Linked DNA regions of Homo sapiens: all the other regions are linked to region 1. Evidence: promoter capture Hi-C in 16 types of primary human blood cells and fetal thymus (Javierre and others, 2016). All regions are on one chromosome and are shown on one strand. The core of a region is centred on a gene start or on the middle of the fragment in contact, and the rest is flanking DNA. Distances in the headings are between cores, read along the strand shown. Region 1 holds the start of UTP25 (UTP25 small subunit processome component). Region 2 overlaps TRAF5 (TNF receptor associated factor 5). Region 3 has its middle 8.9 kb from the start of TRAF5. Region 4 overlaps RCOR3 (REST corepressor 3). Region 5 overlaps RCOR3 (REST corepressor 3).

Region 1 (2,506 bases), core at 4-2,503:
ATCCCTAGAATACTGAGTCTACTTTTATATTTTTGCTTTTTCCTGTTTATTTAGGTGTTATTTAAATACATTAAAATTCACCCATTTTAACTGTACAGTTTAACTTTTCTTATGTATACAAGGTGTAACTACTAGCATGATCAAAATGTAAGATGGTTCCTTTACCTTCAAAAGCTTTTCCATCCCCTTTTGTCCGAGTTCAGTTATGAGACACTGGATTGGGTTTCACAGCCTTTTCTAGCATTGACTGGGGTGATTTCAGTAAAGTCACTTTACCTCTCTAGATGTGTTTCTGCTGTTGTTAAATGGGGAATGCTGGAACAGATTTGTTTGCGGGGACTCTTCCAATACTTTCAGAAAATGCGAGAATAGGGTGAGGGTGGGAATCTCAGACTTGTGGGCCCCATGATTGATATAACACACACAGGCGGCAGACCCTAATGGGTAAAAGCATGTGGTTGCATCAGTTAAGGTTTTTCTCTCTTCTCTTGCTAGCGTGTTATCTTTTCTTTTCTTTTCTTCTTTTTTTTTTTTTTCGAGATGGAGTCTAGCTTTTGTCGCCCAGGCTGGAGTAGGCTGGAGTGCAGTGGAGTGATCTCGGCTCATTGCAACCTCCACCTCCCGGGTTCCAGCGATTCTCCTGCCTCACCTCCTGAGTAGCTGGGATTACAGGCGCCCGCTACCACGCCCGGCTGATTTTTGTACTTTTAGTAGAGACGGGGTTTCACCATGTTTGGCCATGCTGGTCTCGAACTCCTGACCTCAGGTGATCCGCCCATCTCGGCCTCCCAAAGTGTTGAGATTACAGGCGTGAGCCACCGCGCCCGGCCGCTAGCGTGTTATCTTTTCTAAGCATCAGTTTCCTTATCTGCAACACCAGGCTTATTAACAAGACCTATCTGTACACTGTTGTGGTGATGAAGTGAGATGTTCAGGCACCCTTAAATGTTGGTTGATATTTTTATTGCAGTATACTGTAAAGTCACTGCATTCGACTATCTCCGCTACTACACATTTACGCAGACTGATTTCCATAACCAAAACACAAGCACAAAGCTCATGCCCCCGACTCACGCAACCCGGGAAGCCCAGCTGCCCACGTTCTAGGGCTCTGAGAACACTAGTGAACGAACTCCCGTGCTTTCAAAGAGCTGCGGTAGGGGGCAGAACCGGGAACCGGATGTTCTAAGCCTGTCGTACGAGCGCGACGTAAAGCGGATCTGCTTTATGGCACCTTGCTTTCGCCGTAAAGCGCAGTCAGCGAGCCCACGTGCTTGTGTTGACTGGACAACTTCCTGGTGGAAAACCGCGACTCTTGCAAGTGGGCAAACTTGACGTTTTCGCTATGGGCAAACGCGGGAGCCGGAGCCAGAGCCAGCTACTCAACACCCTAACTAAAAAGCAGAAGAAACATCTTCGAGATTTCGGCGAGGAGCATCCCTTCTATGACAGGTCTGAAGGGGCGTGGCAGGGCTCCCCAGTCGCCAGAGATGTATCCTCGAGTTTGGTCCTCTGGTCTCCCAGATAGTGCTGCTCCGGCCTTTTCCCACTATTCCCTGGCTCCCGCTGTGCTCGGCCGGGGAGATTCTGGCGCCATCCCGCCGGGAGATGGAGTGCTTCACGGGCCTTTTTGTTGAGCCTGTAATTTCCTGCTAAGAGGCACGCCCGTTGTGTGGGGGAGGATTTTTTTTTTTTTTTTAAGACGGTGTTTCGCTCTGTCGCCCAGGCTGGAGTGCAATGGCGCGATCTTGGCTCACTGCAACCTCTGTCTCCTCCCGGGTTCAAGCGATGCTCCTGCCTCAGCCTCCCGTGTAGCTGGGATTACAGGCGCCCGCCACCAAGCCCGGCTGATTTTTTGTATTTTTAGTAGAGATGGGGTTTCACCATGTTGGCCAGGCTGGTCTTGAACTCCTGACCTCAGGTGATCCACCCACCTCGGCCTCCCAAAGTGCTGGGATTACAGGCGTGAGCCACCGCGCCCAGCTATGGGGGCGGATTTTTGTGTGGTCAGAGATCTAGGAATTTTTTGTAGACACACATATATATATGTATATATATAATTTTTTTTTTTTAAGACAGAGTCTCGCTTTGTCGCCCAGGCTGGAGTGCAGTGGCGCGATCTCAGCTCACTGCAACCTCCGTCTCCCGGGCTTAAGCGATTCTCCTGCCTCAGCTTCCCGTGTAGCTGGGATTACAGGCGCCCGCCATCACACCCGATCAATTTTTTGTATTTTTAGTTGAGACGGGGTTTCACCATGTTAGCTAGGGTGGTCTCGAACTACTGACCTCGGGTGATCTGCCCGCCTTGGCCTCCCAAAGTGCTGGAATTACAGGCGTGAACCACCGCGCTTGGCCTGTTTTTATAATTATTTTTAACTTACATAAAATGATTGTACATATTTGTGGGATACAGTGTGATATTTTGATAACAATACATGTACCCAATGTGTAATGATCAAATCCGGGTAATTAGCATATTCATCATCTCAAACATCAATTCTTTGCG
Region 2 (2,506 bases), core at 4-2,503, 1.5 Mb after region 1:
TCTCAAACTGTCTTTTTCTCAGTCCTTTGACTCTGCTGGACTTTGTCACCCCCACGACCTGGTGCTGGGTCTGATCACCCCAACAGTGAGCCACCGCGCCTGGCCTCTTTGTACCTTCTTTGTAAGCAAGGAGGATGGTCAGGAAGGGGGAAGGGGGAGAGAAGTGTGAGTCTGAGATGACAGCCCCATAGCTCCATGCAGTGGGCACACCCACCCCCATTTGGGAATGTAGTTGAGGTGGCAGTAGGTAGCCTTTCCAATGAGGAGAAGCCTTTCCAATGAGGAGAAGTTCTTGAGCTGAGTCAAGAACAAAGGGCAGAAGGCTGACCTAGCTTTGGGGAACCCTGCAGGAGTGGAATGCTGACAAGGAGCCACCAAGAGGTGTGGTTCAGAGCTGGGAGGAGAACCAACAAACACAGAACCCTAGGGCCAAGGGATCAGGGAGTTTCAAGAAGGAAGTGCCAAATGTCACATAAAGGGCAGGAGGGCAGTGATTTAGGAGAGACTAGTCAGCAAATGTGATGATGTGATTACAGTTTAGATCATCAAACTAACATAATATGCTTTCCCAGGCTGTATATGGCCTCATATACCACATGCCCAGATGATTTGGGCCTGCCGACTTATTCCAGGTAGAGTACAGATAAGCTTGGGAGGGCCAGGGAGGCTTCAGAGAGGCACTGATGGGATCTGATAAAGGACACAGGTCTGTGGGTGCCACCTGGAAGGTGTGTTTCCATCGGGCATTGCTCTGGAGCTGGGAATGGGAAGGAGAGAGGGGAGAAAGAGGTTGATGGGGCATTGCCGGGCTGAGGATGGAGAATGGGCCAGAGCTCCAGGGGGTGGGGAATTTGGGCCCATGTGCTGCATTTTTGTTTCCTCATCAGTGTCTGCCTATGGTAGGTTCCCAGCAAAGAAATGATTTACAAAAAGTGACTGAATCAATAAATGTTTAGCGCGAGATAGTCCAGTGTAACCATGAATTCAAAATTGGGTGAAATGAGAAGGCAAATAGCATGTCAGGCAGTCAGGTTATCTCAGAGTGGGGGACATTGATGGAGAGACTCAGGGGCAAGTGCTTATTAATAATAGCCCTTATGACACCTCTGTGTACTACCACTATAAGTTCTTCATGCATAGAGGGGTCAGCAAACTTCTTCTGTAAAGAACCAGGTAGTAACTGTGTATTTGAGGCCTTGTGGGCCATATGGTCTGTGGGGCAACTGCTCAGCTCCTCTGTGGTAGCACATAAACAACCATAGACAATATGTAAATGAATGAACATGGCTGTGTTCTAATAAAACTTTATTTACAAAACATGTGATGGGCCAACCCCTGATGTATATAGTATTGACGTATTTAATCTTAAGAAGTTCTATGTGGTAACTACTGTTATTATCACCATTTTATTTTGTTTTTTGATATATTTTTCTTTTTTTTGAATTGTGATAAGTCCTACTTTTTTATTTTTATGGGTGTGTATTAGGTGTATATTGGCTACATGAGATATTTTGATATGGGCATACAATGCATAATAATCACATCAGGGTAAATGGGGTATCCATTATCTCAAGCATGTATCATTTCTTTGTGTTACAATCATCCCAATTCTTTTAGTTATTTTTAAATGTACAATAAATTATTGTTGACTATAGTCACCCTGTTATCAAATACTAGATTGTATTCTATACGATTATTCTGACTATATTTTTGTACTCATTAATCATCCCCACTTCCTCTACCCAACACTTCCCCCACCCCACAACTACCCTTCCCAGCCTCTAGTAACCATCCTTCTACTCTCTGTCTCCATAAGTTCAATTGTTTTAATTTTTAGCTCCCACAAACAAGAACATGTGAAGCTTGTCTTTCTGTGCCTGGCTTATTTCACTTAACATAATGTCCTCTAGTTCCATCTATGTTGTTGCAAGTGATAGGATCTTGTTCTTTTCTATGACTGAATATTGTGTATAGGTACCACATGTTCTGTATCCATTCATCTGTTGATAGATGCTTAGGTTGCTTCCAGATCTTGGTTCTTCAGTGTTGCAGTAAACATGAGAGGGCAGATGTGTCTTCAATATTCTGATTTCCTTTCTTTTGAATATATACCTAGCAGTGGGATTGCTGGATCATATGTAGTTCTGTGTTTAGTTTTCTGAGGAACCTCCATACCGTTCTTCATAGTGGCTGTACTAATTTACATTCCTACCAACAGTGTATGAGGGTTCCCTTTACTCCATGTCCTGTCCAGCATTTCATTATCATCGTTTTACAGATGAGGAAACGGAGAAACATAGCGACTAAGTAATTTGCCTGAGGTCACGTGGCTATGAAGGGGTATGGGCAGGATATGAATCCAGGCAAGTCTACTCCAGAGTTCATGCTGGTAATTGTCATGCCATGCTGACTCTTGGAACCTTGGAGGGGCAGGGAGGAACCCCAGCTCTTCATCCCCTGAGGGCCTCCACCACTACCTGGCAGTAGGAGCTCACTAGGCCTCCAT
Region 3 (2,506 bases), core at 4-2,503, 1.5 Mb after region 1:
TCTAAACATAGAAAAGGTATAGTAAAAATACAATATTTTATATATTTATTTTTTGAGACAGGTTCTCACTCTGTCGCACAGGCTGGAGTGCAGTGGCGGGATCTTGGCTCAGCAACCTTTGCCTCCCAGGCTCAAGCAGTTCTCCTGTCTCAGCCTCCTGAGTGTCTGGGATTACAGGCGCCCGCCACCACACCTGGCTAAGTTTTGTATTTTTTAGTAGAGATGGGGTTCCACCGTGTTGGTCGGGCTGATCTTGAAGTCCTGGTCTCAGGTGATCCACCTGTCTTGGCCTCCCAAAGTGCTGGGATTACAGGTATGAGCCACTGCTTCCTGCTGATGTTATAATTTTAAAGAACATCAGTGTATTTGCAGTCACTGACCGAAATATTGTGTGGTGCATGACTGTACTTGGGTTAAAGTACCTAGTTTAGTTATTAAGTATGTTGTATTAATTTTATGTTCCCTCCTGTTATCAAAAGGTTATTTATGAACATTAATAACTGCTAACTAGTTAACACTGGGGTGTCAGGATCTCCTCAAAAAGAATAGTAATCTGACTTCGAACTCTAAGAAGAATCTATCTTTCTCTTTGTGCATGCCCAAAATAAATGACAAATACATTCTTATTAGAGGACACACAAGAAAAAAAGTGTTTTTAAATTTAGCCATTCATTATAGATTACATCGTTTATAAGAAAATAACAGAATAAATGAATACGGAAAGAACCCAAGAATCAAGTTTGAGAAACCATTCCATATTAGAAAATGCCTACAAGAAACTTTTGACATCTGATTTATGGTAGTACCTGAACTGTTTTCACCTAGGAAAGAGTAGGTCATGTGTAACTCCCCACAACTTCTTTATCATAACTGCCTTAGGGAAGGAATGTTCTGCAGCAGTATATTAGTGACAATGGAGTTTGAGAATTAAACATGACAAGGAATGCTCCTAGATGTGTGAGTTTGTGTCTAAAGGGCCATGTGGCTTTATCTGCCCTTTTTTGCTCTCCTAAGTCTATATAGCTAAGGGAGAAACAGTGAAGATCAGAAGTTAATATTGGGTTGAGATGTTTGCCAATTGTCATTACTTGGTTTAAAGTAGACAATTGTTTATTAATAAACGGAACAGTCTTTACAATGCAGTAATCTAAACTTTAGAATCCTAAAGCAGGAATCTGGGTGAGCAGGGTCTCTAAGGAAAAAATGCTGGTGATGTGAAGTGGAGAGATCTAAGAACAGTCTTCACAATGTAAATGAGGTCAAAGTTGATGTCACAGAATGCTTCATATGTTTCCTTCCCTTGGACTATTTTAAGAAAGGTGAAATTTTTATTCTGTACAATTTAATCTTATTTGTAAGGTACAGTTACCAATAACTAAGAAGATGCTGAATAATACCACAACACAAGGTATCTCTTGAGGGATCTGTCTAGTTTACTACCTGGAACAGCTTTCTTATTTGACAGGATTTGGCTTGAAGAGGCCTTTAATCCAAAGACCATTTTGTTGATATCCTGCCTCTTCATCTTTTCCAAAAGAGTTTGAAAATAATCAGAATCATTGAGGGCTTGTGGCCTATATTTGCAAAATAATTGCCCACCAACCTTTAACACAATGAGTTTTCCAACTCCACTAAGCAAGTTACTTAATCTCTGTGAGCCTCATTTTCCTCATTTGGGGAGGAATATATAAACTGGGGCATATAGTACCTGCCCAATGTATGTTAGAGGTTTTTACATGTCTACTTATACCATACCCTTCTTAATAAGGGAAATGTATTGTGACTTTTTTTTTTTTTTTTGGACAGAGTCTCGTTCTGTCACCCAGGCTGGAGTGCAATGGCGCAATCTCAGCTCATTTTTTTAAAAAAATTAAAGTGCAGTGCAAAAATGAGAGATTAATTTCAGTTCAAGATGACAGACTGGACATAGTCTTTTACTTTTCTTACCCATAATCTCCCCCTGCCAGTCTTACTGAAATGACAAGAAATAGAAAAACCAAAATAACCCTTAGCAGTGCTAGGAAGCCAGAGGAGGAGCTACCAGCAGATGGGGATACATTTATGACAAAAGCCAGCAGAATTAAGGAACCTCTAATGTGACAAAGAGCTGAAGCCAGCCTTTTGCTAACAGCCAGCAAAGAACTCAGGCCTTCAGTTCAACAACCTGCCAGGAACTGAATCCTGCCAACATCCATGTGCACTTGAAAATGGATCCTTCCCCAGTTGGGTCTTGAGATGACCAGAACCCAGCTAACAGCTTGATTGCAGCCTATGACTTGAATAACACACCTTTACCTAGTTGAAATGTGGGATCATTCTACCCAACAGCAGAATAAACATTGTTTCCATGTGCACATGAAATATTGCTCAATATCAGCACTACTGACATTTTAGGTTAGATAATTCTTTTTTGTGCATTTAGAATGTTGAACAGCATCCTCAGCCTCTACCCACCAGATACCAGTAGAACCCCCTTCCCCAGTTTGAGAATCAAAAATGTCTCCAG
Region 4 (2,506 bases), core at 6-2,505, 1.5 Mb after region 1:
AAGGGCAGCATCATCATAATCAGATAGTAGTTAAAAATCAGCATCTAGAGTCAGTGAACCTGTTAAGTTCTAACCCTGGCTATACCATCTCTTCCTGTGTAACCTTAGAGGAGCTCTTTAACTTCTTTCAGCCTCAGTTTTCTCATCTGGAAATGTGGATAATAGTATAGTGGTTGAGAGGAATTAAACAAGATAATATATGGTAAGTGCTTAAAACAGTGCCTGGCGCATATTAAGCTCAGTTATTCGTTGCTATTAGATCTCTGGCCTTTCTTAGTTGTCTTTTCCTATTTTTTGTCTGTTTTGTTATTTTTTTCTTATCCCTTAAATCTAGATATTCTTCTAAATCTGTACTTTCTTGGTCTATATCAACCAACCCTATACCTATGCCAGTGACTTCTGAATCTTATTTCTCAAGCTGTGGCTTTTCTCAAGCTCCTTAGCTATAGTTCCAGCTGCCTGCTAGGTCTTCCCCAAAAGATTTTTTTCTCTGTTTCCTGTCTGTTGAAACATCAGAATCATCTTTTATTCATCCCCTGCTGTTATCCCTTTCCCAACACATGTAAACCAAAGTGGTAACCAAGTTATGTGAGTTTTGTCTCTGAAATTTCCTTTAAATCAATTCCCTCTTTTTTATCTCATCACTACTGCCCATTTAGGCTCTTGCTATCGCTTGCCTGACAATAACTATCTTGTGGATTCTTTTTTTCTCCTCATTTTTTTTATTTTAATTTTTTGTAGAGAAACGTTCTTGCTATGTTACCCAGGCTTGTCTCAAACTCCTGGGCTCAAGCAATCTTCCTGCCTGCCCCTCAAAGTGCTGGGATTATAGGCATGAGCCACCACGCTCGGCCTCTTGTTGATTCTTTCTATTACTTCTCTTTAGCTGGAGGTTACACATTGTTGCCAGTGTTATCTTTTTAAAGCACTGGTCTGATCACTGTCACTCATCTTAAAGCTCTTTGTTAGTTTCTACTTGCCTTTAGCAGGTTACAGTAGAGGTAGACAGGGATTTATAAGAAAATCATGTTAAGAAATTTGAAATTCATCCTGAGTTAGGAAACTGCTGAAGGACTTTAAGGAAAGGTGGACCATGGTCATATTTACATTTTCCAGCTATATCTTTTGCATTTTCTTGTTTGTTTGTTTGGTTTTTTTTTTGCTTTTATAGTTGCTTTAGTGATTACAATATTCATCCTTAGCTTATCACTGCATATTTAGTTAATATTACAGTAGTCCTCCCTTAATCCGTAGTTTCACTTTCCATGGTTTCAGTTACTTGCAGTACAGTACAATAAGATATTTTGAGAAACAGACTATATTCACATAGCTTTTATTACAGTATATTGTTATAATTTTTCTATTTTTAATTAGCTATTGTTATTCTCTATTGTGCCTAATTTATAAACTAAACTTTATCACAGGTATGTATATATAGGGAAAAACAGTACAGGTTGAGCATCCCTAATCTGAAAATCTGAAATGCTCCAAAATTTGAAACTTTTTGAGCACTGACATAATGCTCAAAGGAAATGGTCATTGGAGCATTTTGGATTTTGGGTTTTCGGATTAGGGATGTACAACTGGTATATATTATGCAAATATCCCAAAATCCCCTGAAATTTGAAACACTTCTGGTTCCAAGCATTTTGGATAAGGGAATACTCAACCTGGATATGTTTTGATTTGGTACTATCCACAGTTTCAGGCATCCACTGGGAGTTTTGGACTGTATCCCCTGCGGATATGGGAGGACTACTATATTCTGCTTACAAAATGTAAGAACCTTGCAACAGTATAGTGTGGGATCAAGATTCTCTATCTTAAACATGTTCAGATTTTTCTATTCCTTGGTCCTGGTTATTCACCCAAACTGCTTTTCTGGTTCTCTAACATAGGCCACATTTGCTTCCTCTGCTTTCTTACCAAAACTTATTCTCCAACCCTTTCTAATCTAGCTTCTGCCCCGTATGGTATTCCAGTTCTACTGAAACACCTCTCCGAAGATCATTTATGGGCTGACATGGTGGCTCATGCCTGTAATCCCAACACTTTGGGAGGCCAAGACAGGAACATCACTTGAGGCCAGGAGTTTGACACCAGCCTGAGCAACATAGTGAGACTTCATCTCTATAAAAAAAATTTTAAAAATAGCCAAACGTGGTTGTGTGTATCTGTAGTGTAGTCCTAGCAACACAAGAGAGTCTGAGGAGAGAGGATCGCCTGAGCCTAGGAGTTCAAGGTTTACAGTAGAAAAAAAAAATCACTTATGAACAAGTGGCCAACATCTAATGCTGCCTTCCTGGTTTTTAGCTCCTTTGACTACTCAGTAATGTTTGACACTGTCAGCCATGTCTTTCTTTTTGGAATTTCTTTCACTTGACTTTGTGACTCTCTGGAGTATGTGTGTTTATAGTACATATTTAGAAGGCAGCTATCCTCACCACTATACCACCAACGCATCTCATATTTGGTTAAATGCTTAGCCTTTAGTCAAACTATGAAT
Region 5 (2,506 bases), core at 3-2,502, 1.4 Mb after region 1:
TAATAGCACATGTTACTTTCTCCTGTTTTATAGGAAAGGAATCACGTCTGAATTGTGAGAAAAACATAATGGGTCATTTACAGCTATTCAATTTCATTTTCAAGGGGTTGGTGAGAGAGGACATCAGCCGTTTTTGAGATACAGCCCCTTGAGGATTTATTCATTTATTTTGTAGTTGATAAGGTGAGAAGAAGCCTTTTTAGGATAAAGAAGGAAGGAACTTAAGAAAGAACTGTCTTCAATAAGCATATACTAGTAATAATTAAGTCTTAGGTAATGCTTACCATATGCCACGTACTTACATTAATTCATTTAATTTTTGAGCAACTCTGTCAGGTAGGTACTTTCATCATCCATATTTTTAGAGAGAAGGAAAACTGAGGCACAGACAGATTAAATAGATTTATCCAAGGTGACACAGCTACCAAGTAGCAGAGCTGGTATTCAGACTCTGGGAGTTGGGCTTCGTAGTTCATATTCTTAACCATTGCACTGAAATATCCCTTACTTCCTGTATCAGTCATCTCTTGGGCCTAGTTGACACATATATAATTGAAAATAGTAGAGTCCAGTTCAGAGTTAGGGAAGGAAAATTGCGAAATGCTTAATTAGGCATTCTCTGCTATCAGGATTGCTCTATGTATGCTGCTCCTCTATCTACCTGCTCACCGATATTGGAAGAGCTGTTAGTTCCCACAACTTGGATACCAGTTTCTGTCAGATGGGGCCCTTAATTACAATGCTAATAATGTTTTTGAAACTTATTTATTTATTTATTGAGACAGGGTCTTGCTCTGTTGCCCAGGCTGGAGTGCAGTAGTGTGGTCATGGCTCACTGCAGCCTTGAACTCCTGGGCTCAGGCGATCCTCCCACCTCAGCCTCTTGAGTAGTTGGGACTACAGGTGCACACGATCACATCCAGCTAATTTTTTGTGTTTTTAGTAGAGACAAGGTCTTGCTATGTTTCCCAGGCTGGTCTCAAACTCCGGGGCTCAAGCCATCCGCCCTCCTTGGCCTCCCAAAGTGCTGGGATTATAGGTAAGAGCCACTGCACCCAGCCTGTAGCTGTTACCTTTTATGGGGAAAAATTTAAAAAAAGTTTAATATCTCTTTGAGAAGGGACATTTAATGAAGATATTTTAATTCAGACTTTCTGTAAGGCAAGAATGAGATGCAGGGAAATTATGTTTAAATATTTAGCATGATATGCCGTTAAGACTTGGGACTTAATGGAAAACTTTCTTTGTTGCATTTCGTGTTCTATTAAGTAGGATTTAAATGATCTTATTGTCATGACCATTGTGCAGAATAATCAGTTCCATGTTAAAGGATTGAAGTTTAGGATATTCACTTTATATAACATTAGATTTTATGAATTAAGTAAAGGCTTCTGACCAACTTAAATAGGATTTTTGTTTTATTACCATTGAGTGGGTTGGCTATTTTGTGTTTATATTTTTATTTTACAGGGTTAAAACTTAAATATGTATCTTAATATTGAAGTTTTAAAAAGATATATCAAAGTTTCTTTTCTTTCTTTTTTTTTTTTTTTTTTTTTTTTTTTGAGATGGAGTTTCGCTCTTGTTGCCCAGGCTGGAGTGCAATGGTGTGATCTCGGCTCACCGCAACCTCCGCCTCCCAGGTTCAAGTGATTATCCTGCCTCAGCCTCTTGAGTAGCTGGGATTACAGGCATGCGCCACCACACCCGGCTAATTGTATTTTTAATAGAGATGAGGTTTCTCCATGTTGGTCATGCTGGTCTCGAACTCCCGACCTCAGGTGATCCGTCCACCTCGGCCTCTCAAAGTGCTGGGATTATAGACTTGAGCCACAGGGCCTGGCCAGTTTATTTTCATTGAATATAAATTTTTTCATAATGAACCTTAATTTGGCATTTTCCTAAATTCTCAGCTCATGCTTTTGTGTCCTTTTTTATTAAAGATATGACAAAATACAAAAGGCTTTCGAATACTTTGGTAGTGTTTCTTCTTTCAGTTCTCTTTTCTTCTTAATTTTCCTTATAACATACATAGAATTTTAAGATAAATTTATATTTTATAGCAATGTATGATTTTTTAACTAAAATTTGTTGATCAGTAATGATATATGATGCTTCTCTAAAAATAAAAATATTTAATGATATTATATTATTGCCTGATAGATAACTTCTCTAGCTGGAGATTATAGTAGTAGTTCTCTGACCCCTAGAAATGAATGTTCTTCATTCCAAGTATCTTATAACTTTATAAAGGATTACAGTTTAACCTCGGAATTATTTTAATATGTCAGTAATTTTGGAATTCTGGCTATTAATGGTAATTATCGGTACCACATAAAAGTCATTTATGAGCCGGGTGCAGTGGCTAACACCTGTCATCCCAGCACTTTGGGAGGCTGAGGCGGGTGGATCATCTGAGGTTGGGAGTTCGAGACTAGCCTGACCAACATGGAGAAACCTTGTCTCTACTAAAAATACAAAGTTAGCCAAGCATGGTGGCGTGTTC

Evidence for each region. Contacts are between HindIII fragments. The CHiCAGO score rates a contact against its expected background, and 5 or more counts as called.
Region 2: a contact is called between a fragment that was not itself captured here and the fragment with the promoter of UTP25 in region 1, in 1 of 17 cell types (total B cells). The highest score is 8.7, in total B cells.
Region 3: a fragment that was not itself captured here is called in contact with the fragment with the promoter of UTP25 in region 1 in 5 of 17 cell types (activated CD4 T cells, total B cells, total CD4 T cells and 2 more); the score reaches 10.0 in activated CD4 T cells.
Region 4: a fragment that was not itself captured here is called in contact with the fragment with the promoter of UTP25 in region 1 in 4 of 17 cell types (total CD8 T cells, naive B cells, non-activated CD4 T cells and 1 more); the score reaches 7.7 in total CD8 T cells.
Region 5: a fragment that was not itself captured here is called in contact with the fragment with the promoter of UTP25 in region 1 in 5 of 17 cell types (naive CD8 T cells, naive CD4 T cells, activated CD4 T cells and 2 more); the score reaches 7.8 in naive CD8 T cells.

The regions. Positions count from the first base shown.
Region 1 is chr1:209,826,719-209,829,224 of GRCh38, forward strand. It overlaps UTP25 (UTP25 small subunit processome component), which reads left to right and starts at 1,254. Exons shown (of 12, transcript NM_014388.7): 1 at 1,254-1,452. The coding sequence starts at 1,346. RefSeq lists an enhancer at 1,294-1,343. The HindIII fragment of the contact is 3,327 bases long and covers 173-2,506 here.
Region 2 is chr1:211,340,892-211,343,397 of GRCh38, forward strand. The region is part of intron 1 of TRAF5 (TNF receptor associated factor 5); the gene reads left to right. Among named protein-coding and RNA genes, the nearest start is that of TRAF5, 15 kb to the left of the region's middle. The HindIII fragment of the contact is 1,214 bases long and covers 647-1,860 here.
Region 3 is chr1:211,316,710-211,319,215 of GRCh38, forward strand. No RefSeq gene overlaps it. Among named protein-coding and RNA genes, the nearest start is that of TRAF5, 8.9 kb to the right of the region's middle. The HindIII fragment of the contact is 3,259 bases long and covers 1-2,506 here.
Region 4 is chr1:211,289,822-211,292,327 of GRCh38, forward strand. The region is part of intron 8 of RCOR3 (REST corepressor 3); the gene reads left to right. Among named protein-coding and RNA genes, the nearest start is that of RCOR3, 32 kb to the left of the region's middle. The HindIII fragment of the contact is 2,888 bases long and covers 1-2,506 here.
Region 5 is chr1:211,266,832-211,269,337 of GRCh38, forward strand. The region is part of intron 2 of RCOR3 (REST corepressor 3); the gene reads left to right. Among named protein-coding and RNA genes, the nearest start is that of RCOR3, 8.7 kb to the left of the region's middle. The HindIII fragment of the contact is 5,534 bases long and covers 1-2,506 here.